Regions from separate parts of the Homo sapiens genome. Here regions 2 and 3 are each linked to region 1. Evidence: promoter capture Hi-C in human tissues and cell types (Jung and others, 2019). All regions are on one chromosome and are shown on one strand. The core of a region is centred on a gene start or on the middle of the fragment in contact, and the rest is flanking DNA. Distances in the headings are between cores, read along the strand shown.

Region 1 (4,977 bases), core at 1,624-4,123:
GTGGTTTGCCAGGTGCAGTTGTGCTTGCCTTTAGTCCCAGCTACTCTGGAGGCTGAGGCAGGAGGTATGCTTGAGCCCAGGAGTTCGAAGCCAGCCTGGGCAATATAGCAAGACCTTGTCTGTAAAAAGAAAAAAAAATTGTGGCTAAATACACATATCATGAAATTCATCATCTTAACCATTTGTAGGTGTACAGTTCTGTAAAGTTAAGTATGTTCAACACTGCTGTGCAGAACTCTCCAGAACTCCTTTTATCTTGAATAACTGAACCTCTGTAACCTTTAAACATAAAAGAAACTTTTTTTTTTTTGAGACAGAGTTTCACTCTTGTTGCCCAGGCTGGAGCACAATGGCACGATCTTGGCTCACCACAACCTCCGCCTCCCAGGTTCAAGTGATTCTCCTGCCTCAGCCTCCCGCGTAGCTGGGATTACAGGCGCCCGCCACCACGCCCGGCTAATTTTGTTTTTGTATTTTTTAGTAGAGACGGGGTTTCACCGTGTTAGCCAGGATGGTCTCGATCTCCCGACCTCCTGATCTGCCCACCTTGGCCTCCCAAAGTGCTGGGATTACAGGTGTGAGCCACCACGCCCGGCCTTTTTTTTTTTTTTGAGACAGGGTCTCACTTTGTCTCCCAGGCTGGACTACAGTGGTGTGATCTCGGCTCACTGCAGCCTCCACCTCCTGGGTTCAAGTAACTCTCCTGCCTCAGCCTCCTGAGTAGCTGGGATTATAGACATGCACCACCATGCTCGGCTAATTTTTGTATTTTTAGTAGAGAAGAGGTTTCATTATGTTGGCGTGGCTGGTCTGAAACTCCTGACCTGAAGTGATCTGCCTGCCTCAGCCTCCCAAAGTGCTGGAATTACAAGCATGAGCCACTGCACCCGGCTTGAGGTGTGCCTTAATATCTTTGCAATGCAACCAAGGGTTGCCATTCCTGAGTGACTGAGGCCTCATGATGAGTGCTTGGGATCCATATGGTATGTTATTCAAATCATCCATAATGGTATGTATGCTATTGTCTCTACTTTTCTGTACTTTTGTGTAAGTTTGAAAGCTTTCATGATAAAATTTTTTTTTTTTTTTTTTTTGAGACGGAGTCTCGCTCTGTCGCCCAGGCTGGAGTGCAGTGGCGGGATCTCGGCTCACTGCAAGCTCCGCCTCCCGGGTTCACGCCATTCTCCTGCCTCAGCCTCCCAAGTAGCTGGGACTACAGGCGCCCGCCACTACGCCCGGCTAATTTTTTGTATTTTCAGTAGAGACGGGGTTTCACCGTTTTAGCCGGGATGGTCTCGATCTCCTGACCTCGTGATCCGCCCGCCTCGGCCTCCCAAAGTGCTGGGATTACAGGCGTGAGCCACCGCGCCCGGCCGATAAAAATTTTTAAAAAGTCATTATGTTTTCAGTTCATCACCAAAGTAATGACCAAATCCAAAGCACCTTTATTAGGCCTATCATGCACTATCTTGGTGTGGGCTCCCGCTCTGCCAAGAACCACACAACCTTTGAAACTGATGTCCTGGGCCTGGCGCGGTGGCTCACGCCTGTAATCCCAGCACTTTGGGAGGTTGAAGCGGGCAGATCACCTGAGGTTAGGAGATCGAGACCATCCTGGCTAACACAGTGAAACCCCGTCTCTACTAAAAAAAAAAAAAAAAATACAAAAAAATTAGCCAGGCATGGTGACGGGCGCCTGTAGTCCCAGATGCTCGGGAGGCTGAGGCAGGAGAATGGCTTGAACCCGTAAGGCGGAGCTTGCAGTGAGTCGAGATCGTGCCACTGCACTCCAGCCTGGACTTCGTCTCAAAAAGAAAAAAAAAAGAAAAACTGATGTCCTGGATACTGGGGCGGTTCCTTTACCTTCCTTCAAGGCTGTTCTTGGCGGGTTCCTGCTGTTTCGTTTTGTTTTTTCTTTGTTGTTGTTGTTTTTTTTTTGAGACAGAGTTTCGCTCTTGTTGCCCAGGCTGGAGTGCAGTGGCATGATCTCGGCTCACTGCAACCTCCATCTCCCGGATTCAAGCGATTCTCCTGCCTCAGCCTCCCGAGTAGCTGGGATTACAGGCACGCGCCACAACGCCCGGCTAATTTTTTTTGTATTTTTAGTACAGATGGGGTTTCACCATGTTGGTCAGGCTGGTCTCAAACTCCTGACCTCAGGTGATCCGCCCACCTCGGCCTCCCAAAGTGCTGGGATTACAGGCGTGAGCCACTGCGCCCCGCCGGGCTCCTGCTGTTTCAACCCATTCCTTGGATGGTGCTGCCTCCAAGTGTTCGGACCTTAGCCCCAGGTGGTCTTAGCACCAGTAACCCCCGCTCCAACTCCCTAAAGTCCGACCCGCCCCAGGCCCCGCCCACGCTCCACCCTCCCTCCCTGTCTAGCCCCCTCCCCCATCCCCTTCCCCCTCCTTCGCGTCTCCCCATCCGGCGCCCCCGCCTCGCGTCCCCTGGGTCCGCATCCTGGCAGCCTCCGCGTTTCCCTACCCCTGCTACCGGGCTCCAGCCCCGGGGACGCTATCTGCTTCACTCGGCCGTGCGCGCCGCCACCGCCCCGCACTGCCTTTTTCTAGGCATGGGGTCATCTAGGCCATGCATGATTCGCCCCTGCCCCACAGAAGTCCCTGAGGGGTCCTGGCCGGACAGCACGGAATAGAAGAACGGAAACTCTCCCAAAAGGAGTCCCAGGCCTGGCTCTATCCCTCCAGATGACGTCCCAGGAGGCCAGAGTGCAGGGCCGGCCAGAGGGAGTCACAGTCCGGCACCGAGAGGCAACTCGGCAGCTGGCGGGGCCCGGGCTCGAACCCAGGGACTCACCCAAACCGAGGTGACCGTCGCACGCGCCGCCGCCACCGGGGCCGACGAATCACCTGCCCTGGGAAGCTAGGTCCGCCCTCCCCCCGCCCCCAGCTGCTGCCTCACCGCTGGGCCCACAGGCCTCGCGCCCTGAGTTTCCGGCTCCTCCCTCCTTTGCGAACGCTGGGAGTTCCGTTGCCTACAGGCCGTTATTTCCGCCTTCAACGGCTGGGGCATTTCCCATCGGCTAGGGAGGGGGTCTTCTTGCATTTGCTTTGCACTGTCCGGGACTCTTCCTGCTAGATGACTTGACCAGGCCGAGGCCTCCCTCCTGAACACAAGCTCTTCGGGGCTCCTTTCGCCAATGGGAGGAGGCTGATCTTGTGGCCGGGCATTCAACGCCCTGGGCCCTGCCGCCTCCCGCAGATCTTCCCGGGCCTTAGGGCTTCACCTGGAGTCCCCTTCCCCTCTTGGGCCCGTGCTCTTAAACGGGCAGTGCCAATTGCCTGGATTACTCCAACTAACCCCTCACACCCAAGTTTCAGACACAGACCTTCGCTCCCCCACTTGCCCTTAACAAAAGCAGATACATACCTCGATTACTGCCTGTTTGCTGCTTTTGCGAGCTTCTTTCCCACTCGGCTGCGGGCTGAGCAATGGTAGGGACCTGGCTTGATTCCTATTTAAGTAGCCAGAGTCCAGCACAAGGGATGGCGCTCAGTAGACCCTGCGTGAAGGAATGATTAAATTGGTGCAAAAGACTAGGGTAAGCGGCAGAGATTTAGGAGATTAAGTCCTGCCAGGGTGTAGCCTCTGCAGGGCGGGAAGGCTGAGATTACAATTTTAAAACTGAATATTTATTGAATGCTTACATTCAGCCAATCCCTGCTTCACACCCATCATCTCATTTAATTTTTTTCCTTTTTTTTCTTTTTTAAGCCAGTAGATATTAACTCTTAATCATGACATGAGGAAGTAGACACACTGAAGCTCAGAGAGGTTAAGTAATTTGGCCAAAGTAACACAGCTTTCAAGGAAAATGTTTGAATTTGCTGAAAGTTTGATGTATAGGGAAGTTGACTACCGATGTATGACAGAAGCAAAGTATCCACCTTTGGCACATTTTGCGTCCACGGAATGCTAAAATTTGGACTTGTGTATTTTATGCACATTACACCATACATTCAGACTAAAAAGAATAGGAAATTAGGCTGATGAAAGGCTATTACTAGACTGGTAAAAAGGGTTCTGGGGCCCTGGAAGGCCAATTTTTCTGGACGTGAGATTTTTTTTTATTTTTTTGAGATGGAGTCTCGCTCTGTCGCCCAGGCTCTGGAGTGCAGTGGCGCAATCTCCGCTCACTGCAAGCTCCGCCTCCCGGGTTCACGCCATTCTCCTGCCTCAGCCTACTGAGTAGCTGGGACTACAGGCGCCTGCCACCATGCCCGGCTAATTTTTTTGTATTTTTAGTAGAGACGGGGTTTCACTGTGTTAGCCAGGATGGTCTCGATCTCCTGACCTCATGATCTGCCCGCCTCGGCCTCCCAAAGTGCTGGGATTAAAGGCGTGAGCCACCGCACCCGGCCTGGACCTGAGATTTTATTTAGGTGGCTCTTTCAGTGGCCAGGCTGAGCAAAGCTGTCCACTAGGGTATTTATTTGGTGCATCCACAAATAAAAGCTCATGTCTGCCTGATTTATGAGACTGACAAAAAAGAGAAGTCCAGGGCCTGACTTCACTAGGGAATTTTGACACCCAGGATATTAGGTATTTTGTGTCCAAACAACCATCCCTTACAACCACGGAGGTCACATCTAATGGTCGGGCTGCATAGAAAAGAATAAAGACCTTAAACATTTTAGGAAAATAGACTGAGACTGAGAAAGAAGTTCCCAAATTCATGCCTGGAGGTCCAGGAGAAATGTTCTAGTTCCTCACTCACACCTAGCTGAATAACTTCCCATATCACTGAAAAAACAAAACAAAACCAGGTCAGGCACTGTGGCTCATGCCTGTAATCCCACCACTTTGAGAGGCCAAGGTGGAAGTAGCCCATGAGTTTGAGACCAGCCTGGGCAACATGACAAAAACCCATCTCCACAAAAAAAAAATTAGCTAGGTGTAGTGGTATGAGTCATGATCCCAACTACTTGGAAGGCTGAGGTGGGAGGATCACTTGAGCCC
Region 2 (4,977 bases), core at 1,411-3,910, 210 kb after region 1:
TCAGAACACACCCTCTGTATTCTGGAAATGAGAAAACTAAGTTCAGAGAAAATGTGAAATTTTTTTGTTCATTCATTTAACATTTATTATGAACTGAGTATGTGTCAGGCAAGTATGTGCTGAGCACTGAGGATATAATTAGTAACATCTCGTCACTGCTCTCAAGGGGTAAGGAAGGATGGACATGGCTATATCAAGCTCTATGTGATATTATTATAAAATGATAGAATTATCTAGTGTTGTGCTATCCAATATGGTAGGCAGCAGTCACACGTGGCTACTTAAATTTAAATTAATTACAATTAAATAAAATCAAAATTCAGTTCCTCAGTGCTTGCTTAGACAGCACATATACAAAATTCAGTTCCTTAGTCACACTAACCACTTTTCAAGTGCTCAGTAACCACCTGAGGCTAGTGGCTACCATATTGTGGCAGGCATAGAACCTTTCCATCATTGCAGAAAGTTCTATTGGACAGTGGTGCTTTAGATCTTCTCCCCAGAATAACATTCATATGCATATATCCCAAATTCATACCACTTCAAGGTGTTTACATCTTGGTCTGAAAGCCCTTTATAATACAGGCAAGAGAGAAATGATGAGTGTTGCTAACTAAAACTAAAATCAAAGATAGGAGTTTTGTTATAAGCCAGAGTCCAAACTTGTGAAAATTGTAGCTTAGAAAAACTTTCTGGCTGAGTTGGCTGCAGTTGAATAATGAGTCACTTGTTCATTTCAACAGGGATGGGCTCAGTTTCCTGTGCCTCCTGGGTAGTGCTGTGGTTGTCTGGGCCTAGTGGCCACATGCTGATGTGTGCTCACTTTAGACAGGGAGAGGTCCTCACCACTTCCCTGACATTTTAGTCAAACTAGATCACTTCTCTCACAATTTACTTGCAGTCTTTCTAAGTAAGGATGTTACATGGGTTTCACCTTCAGTAGGCTATATTCACGTAACGATCATTTAGTGGGTGCTTTCTATGTCCCAGGAACCAGGCTATGTGCTACAGACATGAAGAGGATTAGGACAAGTTGTTCATAATCTCGCAGAGGAGACAAATGAGAAACCAGCTAGTCATAACAAAGGCAGAGTTAAATAAGTGCTGTAATAGACAAGGTACTGGGAAATTCAGGAAAAGGAGGGACTAAAATTCAATATAGGGGACTAGGGAAGGCTCACTGAAGGAGATGGCATTTGAACACGGCCTTAAAGAATATGTTAGACCAGAATAGCATGGAACATATAATTGGGCATTCTTCCACATTCATGTTCTTTTTTTAAAAAAATCTTTTATTTAAGGTTCAGGAGTACATGTGAAGGTGTGTTACATAGGTAAACTCATGTCATAGGGTTTATTGTACAGATTATTTCATCACCCAGGTATTAAACCCAGTACCTAATAGTTATATTTTTGGCTCCTCTTTCTCCTCCCACCCTTCACTCTCAAGTAGACCCCAGTGTCTTTTGTTCCCTTCTTTGTGTCCATGTGTTCTTATCATTTAGCTCCCACTTATAAGTGGGAACATGCGGTATTTGGTTTTCTGTTCCTGCATTAGTTTGCTAAGGATAATGGCCTCCAGCTCCATCCATGTTCCTGCAAAAGACATGATCTTGTTCTTTGTTTATGGCTGCATGCATTCAAGTTCTTGAAGTCTGAAATTCTTCCACTGTGCAGGCTGTGGCAGCTCTCATATTTCCTTTCACACTGAACCTGCTCTGTCTTCCTGGAGACTTCCAGCCTCCCAACCCATCCTAGTCTCACGGTCCTTTATGCACTTCTAGATGAGACTCCAAGATCAGAGTTTTCAAGCAGATTTTTTTTTTTTTAGTACTTCTTTGTCCTCTGGCTTCTGTTTTTATCTATCGTACTAATCCCCAATCTTGTTTTGCTGAAATTCATGTTATCCATTCAGTATGAGGTCTCTCAACAACTCTCTAGTCTAACTCAACATTTCTTTGTGTCTTCCCCAATTCTCTCCCCCAACCCTATCCTCTATGGAGGGGGCATTCCTTTCTATGAGTAACTCTTTATCCCATGTTTTCTCTTCCCTTCCAGGACCCAGTAGCATGCTTTTTCTCCTCTCTCGTATCCAGTCTTCATTGCCTGTTAATGGTTCTCTCCTTAGAGGTAGATCCAGGGTTTTCAGGGCCTAAAGCTTATTTAATCTTGGGAGTCTTCTTCTTCTTCAAAAAAAAATACAAAATTACAAATATCAAATTAAGGGGGAAAAGTTAATACTTACTTAGAAGGGGGCTGTGTAACTGCGAGGGGCCCTGAAGCTTATTTCATAGTGAGTCCATCTCTGTCTGTCCTATAATAAAAACCTAACCAAACACAAAAGCTTCCCTTTGCTTTGCTATTGCAAACCATTATTCCATTTCTCTTTCTCAACACCCTGAAACTTTTCAAGAAAGTAGACTAGGTACATTCTCTTCACTTTAACATCACTTTGACCTCATGCCCACCATGCTATTGCAATGGTTTTCTCTGAAGCACCACTGACCTTCTAATCCCTAAAGCCTATGGCCTTTTCTTGGTCCTGAACTAACTTGTCCCTTCCATAAAAATTCAACATGAGTCATCCTCTGACTTCTTCAAATGACTCTTTTCCCACTCAAGCACCAATGGTGAGCCTTCCTCAGGGTCCCTTCAACATCCCAGGTTGTCTTCCCTCCCTTGTGACTCAATGATCACACCTATGGCATGGCTTCCACCATCACCCACCTGTGTGGCTGACCCAATTATGTGTCCTTTGCTCTGACTTCCCTCATAAACTTCAAACTTAAGATACAAACTCTCTACCTACGTTCCATCAGCACACCAAATTCAACATCTTTTTCTTGATGTGTCAATGGCATCACTCCCTCCCTGCCATCTGCTCTAGAAATTTCAAAGTGTTACTTTAAACAAATTTCCCCTCTCTCCTTCTATCCTCCCGTCATTTCTAAGATCTAGCAGTTCTACTCCACACTGATTCCCTAGTGTGGTTCTTTCTACTGCCATTTCCCGTACTTCAATTTTTTTCACTCTTGACTCAGACTGATTCAAAGGCTCTTCATTGTTTGCAGCTAAGGAGCCTCAGAGCTGAGTATGACTTGCCCCATTGAATTAATGGCAGGCCAGATGTAGAATCCAGGTCTCTTGCTTCTTTTCGGTGGCTGCATACTTCTAAGCCCACTATAATCCATTTTATATATGAATGCCAGATTAATCTTTCTTTTTTTGTTTTTTTTTTTGTTTTTGTTTTGTTTTGAAACAGGGTCTCACTCTGGTTGCCCAGGTTGGAGTGCAGTGGTGCAATCTTGACTCACTGCAGCCTCGACCCCCTGGGCTCCGGTGATTCTCCCACCTCACCCCCCGAGTAGCTGGACTACAGGCACGTGCCACCATGCCTTGTTAATTTTTTGTATTTTTAGTAGAGATGGGTTTTCGCCATGTTGGCCAGGCTGGTCTCGAACTCCTGGACTCAAGCAATCCGTCTGCCTCAGCCTCCCAGAGTGCTGGGATTACAGGTATGAGCCACTGTACCTGGCCCAGATTAATCTTAAAAGTGATTACTCCAGTGAAACCCTGTCTCTACTAAAAATACAAAAAATTAGCTGGGCGTGGTGGCGGGCACCTGTAGTCCCAGCTACTTGGGAGGTTGAGGCAGGAGAACGGCATGAACCCGGGAGGCAGAGCTTGCAGTGAGCCAAGATCGTGCTACTGCACTCCAGCCTGGGCGACAGAGCGAGAATCCATCTCAAAAAAAAAAAAAAGAAAAAAAAAGTGATGACTTTTGTCCAGGCGCGGTGGCTCACGCCTGTAATCCCAGAATTTTGGGAGGCCAAAGCGGGCAGATCATGAGGTCAGGAGATCGAGACCATCCTGGCTAACATAGTGAAACGCTGTCTCTAGTGAAAATACAAAAATTAGCTGGACACGGTGGTGCATGCCTGTAGTCCCAGCTACTCGGGAAGCTGAGGCAGGAGAATCACTTGAACCCAGGAGGCAGAGGCTACAGTGAGCTGAGATTGTGCCACTGCACTCCAGCCTGGTGACAGAGCGAGACTCCATCTCGAAAAAAAAAAAAAAGTGATGCCTCTCACCAAATGAAACTATTATACTATAGTCTGTGGCATGGTATTTCAGGGCTCAAAATCTGATCAAAAGTAATATCTCAACTTTATCTTTCTCTTGGCCCCTTGCTGTACTCTACAATCAAATGGGCTCTTGAATATCCTCTGAATATGGCCCTACTTTCATGCAAATAATTCATGGAATTAGTTTCTTCCTCCCCTGAAATGTAGTTCAGTAGTTTGAACCTCATATCACATATGATCTGATGTTGTCTTTACTTGTCTGTGTAAGACTATGGTGACTCCCCAGCAACCATTCCATCCCAGCAGGTTGGAAATCCAGAGTAATCCCATCTACTTCTCTGTGATTGGTTAGGGGTGGGCATGTGACACACTTCTGGCCAAGGACACACTAAGGGAAGTCTGCTGGGAAGATTCTTGGAAAGCTTCCCATGTGTTAGAAGGAAACATAGAAGAAAATGTCCTTTCTGCCTCTGGATATTTTCATGTCTGGATGTGAACTGCAAGAACAGCTACAGCCACCTTGCTCTCAACCCAACAAAAGAGATGGAAAGAATTTGGACTTTTGATGACATGAAAGCTCAGGTCAACCAATCCTGGAGACTGTTCTGTCTTTGGACTTCCTATTATGTGAAGTAATTTATTTCCTTATTGTCCAAGGCAGATTAAATCACAGTTTTCTATTATTTGCAGCCAAAAGCATCAGGAAACAATATTTTGTTTTTGATGCTAAATGTTAAGCTTCTTAAAATCAGGGACTGTATCTATGTATCTTTCTAGCCCTCTTACAGCTTGGCATGCAGCAGATGGATGCTCAAAAAGCGACTGTGAAATTAATATTTGTATATATTTCTGGGATACAACTAGTAAAAACACTTGCAATTTAAAAAGCTCT
Region 3 (4,977 bases), core at 1,387-3,886, 190 kb after region 1:
GGGGGTTAGGAAGCCATAGGCATCCTGGTCATAAGTCTGGACCCCAAAAAGGGCTTCTGCCAGCCTGCTAAGGGTTCCAGAGGGCAGGACTGAGGGGTGGTGGGAGGAGCCCAGCCTGGACGGCCGAGATATATATAGTGCTCTTGATTCATCTCTTGGAACTTTTCACCCATCAAGTTTAGGCTCCCAGTGGGGCACACATGGGAAAGACAATGCCCATGTCTTCAACTAGTTTCCCCATCAGAAGTGGTCATTGCACCAAGCACCCTCCTCCATTAAAACCGGACAGGCCAAGGGCCGCTTTCCTAATGGATGAGTCTTCTTGGTCTGTCTCATGTTCCCAACAGAGCTCCCTCCATGGGATGGGAAGGTGCCATCCCAGGGCCGCCGTTTTGACCCAGCCTCCAGCCAAAGCTGGTCCCCCTGCCAAGCAGGCCCTAGAGTTACACTGGAGAGTGACAAGCCTCATCTGAAGATTTCTTGCTGAAAATTGTCAGTTTCCTGCACAAGTACATCCTGGCAGTTTACACATTTATGCTTAGCGTTCCATTACTGGAACGCTAAGCTTGTGGAGTTATTTATATCCTACTGCTCAGTGTCATCGCCAAGGTCTGATTTTTCACAGAAAAACATTTGCAACCTCTGACATAATGAGTTAATTCAAATTAAACCCAGAAGGAGACTGCTGCTTCAGTCTCAACTGCTTGGAAATTGTGCTATGTAGAGCTTTCGTTTACTGAAAATTGTGCCTTCAGACTCTGTGCAGATTAACCTACTACATAGAGCAAGTACACACATAGGGCACCAACCAAGGACAAGTGTGTACCTGTGTGCACACACAAATAGAAAATCCAAAAATAAATATTTTAATTTCAGCTATCATGGAAGTTTTGTGTCATTTCTCCAAAAATGCCCATGTCAAATTTTATTTTATAATTTAGTCTTGTTTTTATTTAGAATTACTTAAGAAAAAGGGGAGCTGAGTGTGGTGGCTTATGCCTGTAATCCCAGCACTTTGGGAGGCTGAGGCAGAGGATTGCTTGAGCCCAAGAGTTTAAGATCATCCTGGGCAACTTGGTGAAACCCCATCTCTACAAAAAATACAAAAATTAGCCAGATGTGGTGGTATGTGCCTATGGTCCCAGCTGTGCAGGAGACTGAGGTGGGAGATTCATCTGAGTCTGGTAAGTTGACGCTGCAGTGAGCTGTGATCGCATCTTTGCACTCCAGCCTGATGACAGAGAGAAACTGTCTCAAAAAAAAAAAAAAAAAAAAAAAGGAAAAGGAAGAAAGAAAGGCAAAGAAAGAAAGAAAATGAAAGAAGAAAGAAAGAACGAATGAATGAAAGAAAGAAAGAAAGAAAAGAAAGAGAGGAGCTCTGCACAATAATTTTGCAGTGTCTTGGGTCTCTAAAGATCTTAATTAGGACCTAAACTCAGATTAGGCTGGGATCCTGGGCAGTGTGGCCCCAAATACAGTTATGGGAGGCCCTTCCAAGATAAGTCTAGACTGAGATAGAGTAGGTCTCAGGAGAGGGGCTGATATGCCCATGGTTCTCAACCTGGCTGCACCTGGAGAGCTTGGCATCACCTGGAGAGCTTGAAAACATTCTGATGCCCAAGCCCCACCCTAGAGATTCTGAGCTAATTGGTGGGGGATGGCCTGGGCACCAGGAATTTTCACAGCTCACCTGATGATGGCACTGTGCAGCCAGGGTAGAGAAATACTGACCTTTGCTTTCTCCACGTTGTGTCTGCCTTGGTTTTCCCATATTCCCCCAGGCTCCAGGATCTGAATGAACTACAGGAATTGAGAATTAGCCCTCCCACCCAGCCACTTTCTTCCCCTGCTGGGGAATCTTTGAGCCTTCATTTTGGCTATAGGCCTCGATATAACTCATCGGCCCAGGGATCGGGGCAGGAGTGGGGCTCCTGGCAGAGAGCAGAGTGTGGGCTTTGTAGTTACACAGACTTGCATTCAAGTCCCAGCTCTGTGATGTCAGAAGAAGATCTGATCCATAGTTGGTTACCCTGCGAAGTGGAGAAAGTGTCCGCCTAACCGGCAAGATCTCTTTGAGACTGAAATGAGAGAAAGCTGGGGCAACAAGTGAGTTCCTTCCGCGCCATTTCTGTGAGCTGGCCCTGTAGCTTCTCCTTGGTCCTTTGAGTTCTCAGCTTTAGCTCTCTTACTCCTGCTCCTTCTCCTCACTCTCTCTCTTTTCCACCCTGGATAAGTGCCCTGCTTCTCCCCACAGGTTAACCACCCTCCCCCGTACCCAGTGGGTGATGAAAGTCTTCCCTGGTTGTGCCAGCATCTCCCTGATACTTCCTTTCTCTCCTGCATTCAACCATGATGAAGCCCAGCACAGTCTCCCTCTCTTGTGCCCCATTTCCACCACAAGGTCACTGTCAGCTCTTACACAGACATCCCCAGTAGCTTCCACTTTGGCCTCTTCCAACCAGCCATTCTGGTATTGCAGCCATATTCATCTTTAAAAGCCCAATATTATTAAGTCACTCTCTTGCTAAATTCTGCAATGGCTTTGACTCACCCTTGGCCTGCAGGATCTGGCCCCTGCCTGCCTCTGCAGCCACCTTTTGCTTCATTCTTTCTCTCTTACTCCCTCTATCACCTCAGATCCCTGAGGGTTCCCTCCCTCCTACCTCAGGACCTTTGCACATGCTGTTCTCTCTGCCAGAAACACTTCTCTTTGACAGTGAATGCCTTCTCAAATATCCCTTATTTGGGGTGTTGACTACCCACCCCATCAGATTAGGTCCCTCACTATATGCTCTTATATCTCTTTATACTTTTTCAATTAAATAAATTTTGATCACGTGATTTATGGCCATCTCCCCTACTAGACTGTAAGCTCCATAACATCAAGGACCAGGCCAGTTTTTGTTCATCGTTGTAACCCAAATGCTTAGCACTGTGCCTGGCACAAACTAGGGGCCATTTGGACCAAGTGTCTAGGTTGTGTAGACTTGCAGCCCCTGTGGAAGTGTGTGGATAAACATGAGAAACAGGATGACTGCCTCCCCAGCATGGCTTGAGTGTTTCCTGGATGTGTCCAGGCGGGTATCACATGCTGGGTGGCATCAGAGGAGTGCCCTGTTTTCCTTTTATAAGAGAAGGAAAGGTTAGAGACTATGAACAGTCAGCTGTGGGATCATACAGTGTCTGCCCTGCTCCACTTGGCTCAAGGCCTCTGGGGAATGGGGATATGGGACAGGGACATGGCGCATGGTGCAAGTGGTTGTGGCAGCGAGCCTTATGGAGGAACAGCAGTGAGTCAGTCCCTTCTTGGCATGGGACGCTGCCTCTGCAGGCATAGGAGGCCATATTCCCCACTCTCACACCCAGTCAGTTGGGTGCTTCTAACTTGAGCTGTGGCATTTGGCATGTAAAAAATGCATTCCTGGTTTTCCAGCTTGGATCTCATGGTAAGCAGGGGTGTGAGGTCTGAGGAGGATGAGTGTTTCAGTGGAGATGTCTGGATAACTTTTAGGATAAGTATATCCCAAACATTGCATGGGATATACTCATACAAAAAAACTATTTGCTGTTTATCTGATATTGTAGGTTAACTGCATATCCTATAGTTTTCTTTGCTCAATCTGGTGCCCCTAAGCTTGGGGCTTCCTCACTTCACCGTGGTGCTGTTGTGCCCTTCCTTCATTATACCACACTAGGCTCTTGGGGTACACAGAGGAGTGAGACAGGACCCTTCCCTCAGGGAACTCACAGTCTAACATAAGAGATAAGAATTTGAACAGAGATCGCCAAAGCAATGCAAACTCTATTTCTGAGAATTTGGGGACCCTTGTTGGAATAGAACAGCTTTAGAATTCAGAAGAGATCAGAAATCATGGAACAGAATAGGAAGTCCAGAAACAAACCTGAAGGTTTTTCTTTTCTTTTTTTTGGAGATGGAGTCTCACTCTATTACTCAGGCTGGAGTGCAGTGGTGTGATCTTGGCTCACTGCAACCTCTGCTGCCTGGGTTCAAGCAATTCTCCTGTCTCAGCCTCCTGAGTAGCTGGGATTACAGGTGCCTGCCACTACGCCCAGCTAATTTTTATATTTTTAGTAGAGATGAGGTTTCACCATCTTGGCCAGGCTGGTCTTGAACTCCTGACCTCATGATCCACCCACCTCGGCCTCCCAAAGTGCTAGGATTACAGACATGAGCCAGCACGCCTGGCCACAAACCTGAATTTTTATAAGAATATATTGTTTTAGCGTGTGATAAAGGTGGCATTAAGACCTCTTGAGCAAAGAAGAATTATTCAATAAGTTTTGTTAGAGCAATTAATTAACTACCTGGAAAAAAATTAAGTTAGAATCATTACTACTTTAAACCTCATGCCAGAAATGAATTCCAGTTGTTGTAAAGATGTTAACAAATAAAACTGTAAACATACTAACTAGGAGAAAACATAAAAAAAGAATATTTACATGATCTTGGGGATTATGAAGGACTTTCTAAGCATGATGCTCAGTACTGTACAGAAGGTATAAAGAAAAATTGTTCTATTCATTGCAAATTTGTTCTATTCTTGCAAAATTGTTCTATTCATTGCAAATTTGTTTTTCTCAATAATTTCTTCTGTCTTTTCATTTGTTTTTCTGGTGTTTTGTAACATACAGAAGTTTTCATTTTTACATAATGAAGTATGTCAGTGTGAGTATTCCAACTACATAAAAGTACTCATCAACAAACAGGAAAAAGACAAACACAGTAATAGAAAAAATGAATCAAGGAAATATACCAGCAATTCAGAAAAGAAGAAATACAAATGTCCAATGAACATATAAAATAATATTCAATTTCACTAGTAATAATAAAAAAGAAAAAGCAAACCCAGCATTAGTGAATGTATTAGTCCATTCTCATATTGCTATAAAGAAATATCTGAGAGTGGGGAATTTCTAAAGAAAATAGGTTTAACTGGTTCACGGTTCCATAGGCTG

The links. Contacts are between HindIII fragments. The study calls those that stand out against the background at their distance.
Region 2: a fragment that was not itself captured here is called in contact with the fragment with the promoter of SNUPN in region 1 in 3 of the 25 tissues and cell types used here (IMR-90 fibroblasts, dorsolateral prefrontal cortex and spleen).
Region 3: a contact is called between a fragment that was not itself captured here and the fragment with the promoter of SNUPN in region 1, in 1 of the 25 tissues and cell types used here (mesenchymal stem cells).

Annotation. Positions count from the first base shown.
Region 1 is chr15:75,622,852-75,627,828 of GRCh38, forward strand. SNUPN (snurportin 1) reads right to left here and starts at 2,874. Exons shown (of 9, transcript NM_005701.4): 1 at 2,815-2,874. RefSeq lists a silencer at 2,353-2,402 and an enhancer at 3,053-3,242. The HindIII fragment of the contact is 13,243 bases long and covers 1-4,977 here.
Region 2 is chr15:75,836,355-75,841,331 of GRCh38, forward strand. No RefSeq gene overlaps it. Among named protein-coding and RNA genes, the nearest start is that of UBE2Q2, 4.6 kb to the right of the region's middle. The HindIII fragment of the contact is 6,022 bases long and covers 1-4,977 here.
Region 3 is chr15:75,808,464-75,813,440 of GRCh38, forward strand. No RefSeq gene overlaps it. Among named protein-coding and RNA genes, the nearest start is that of UBE2Q2, 32 kb to the right of the region's middle. The HindIII fragment of the contact is 6,763 bases long and covers 1-4,977 here.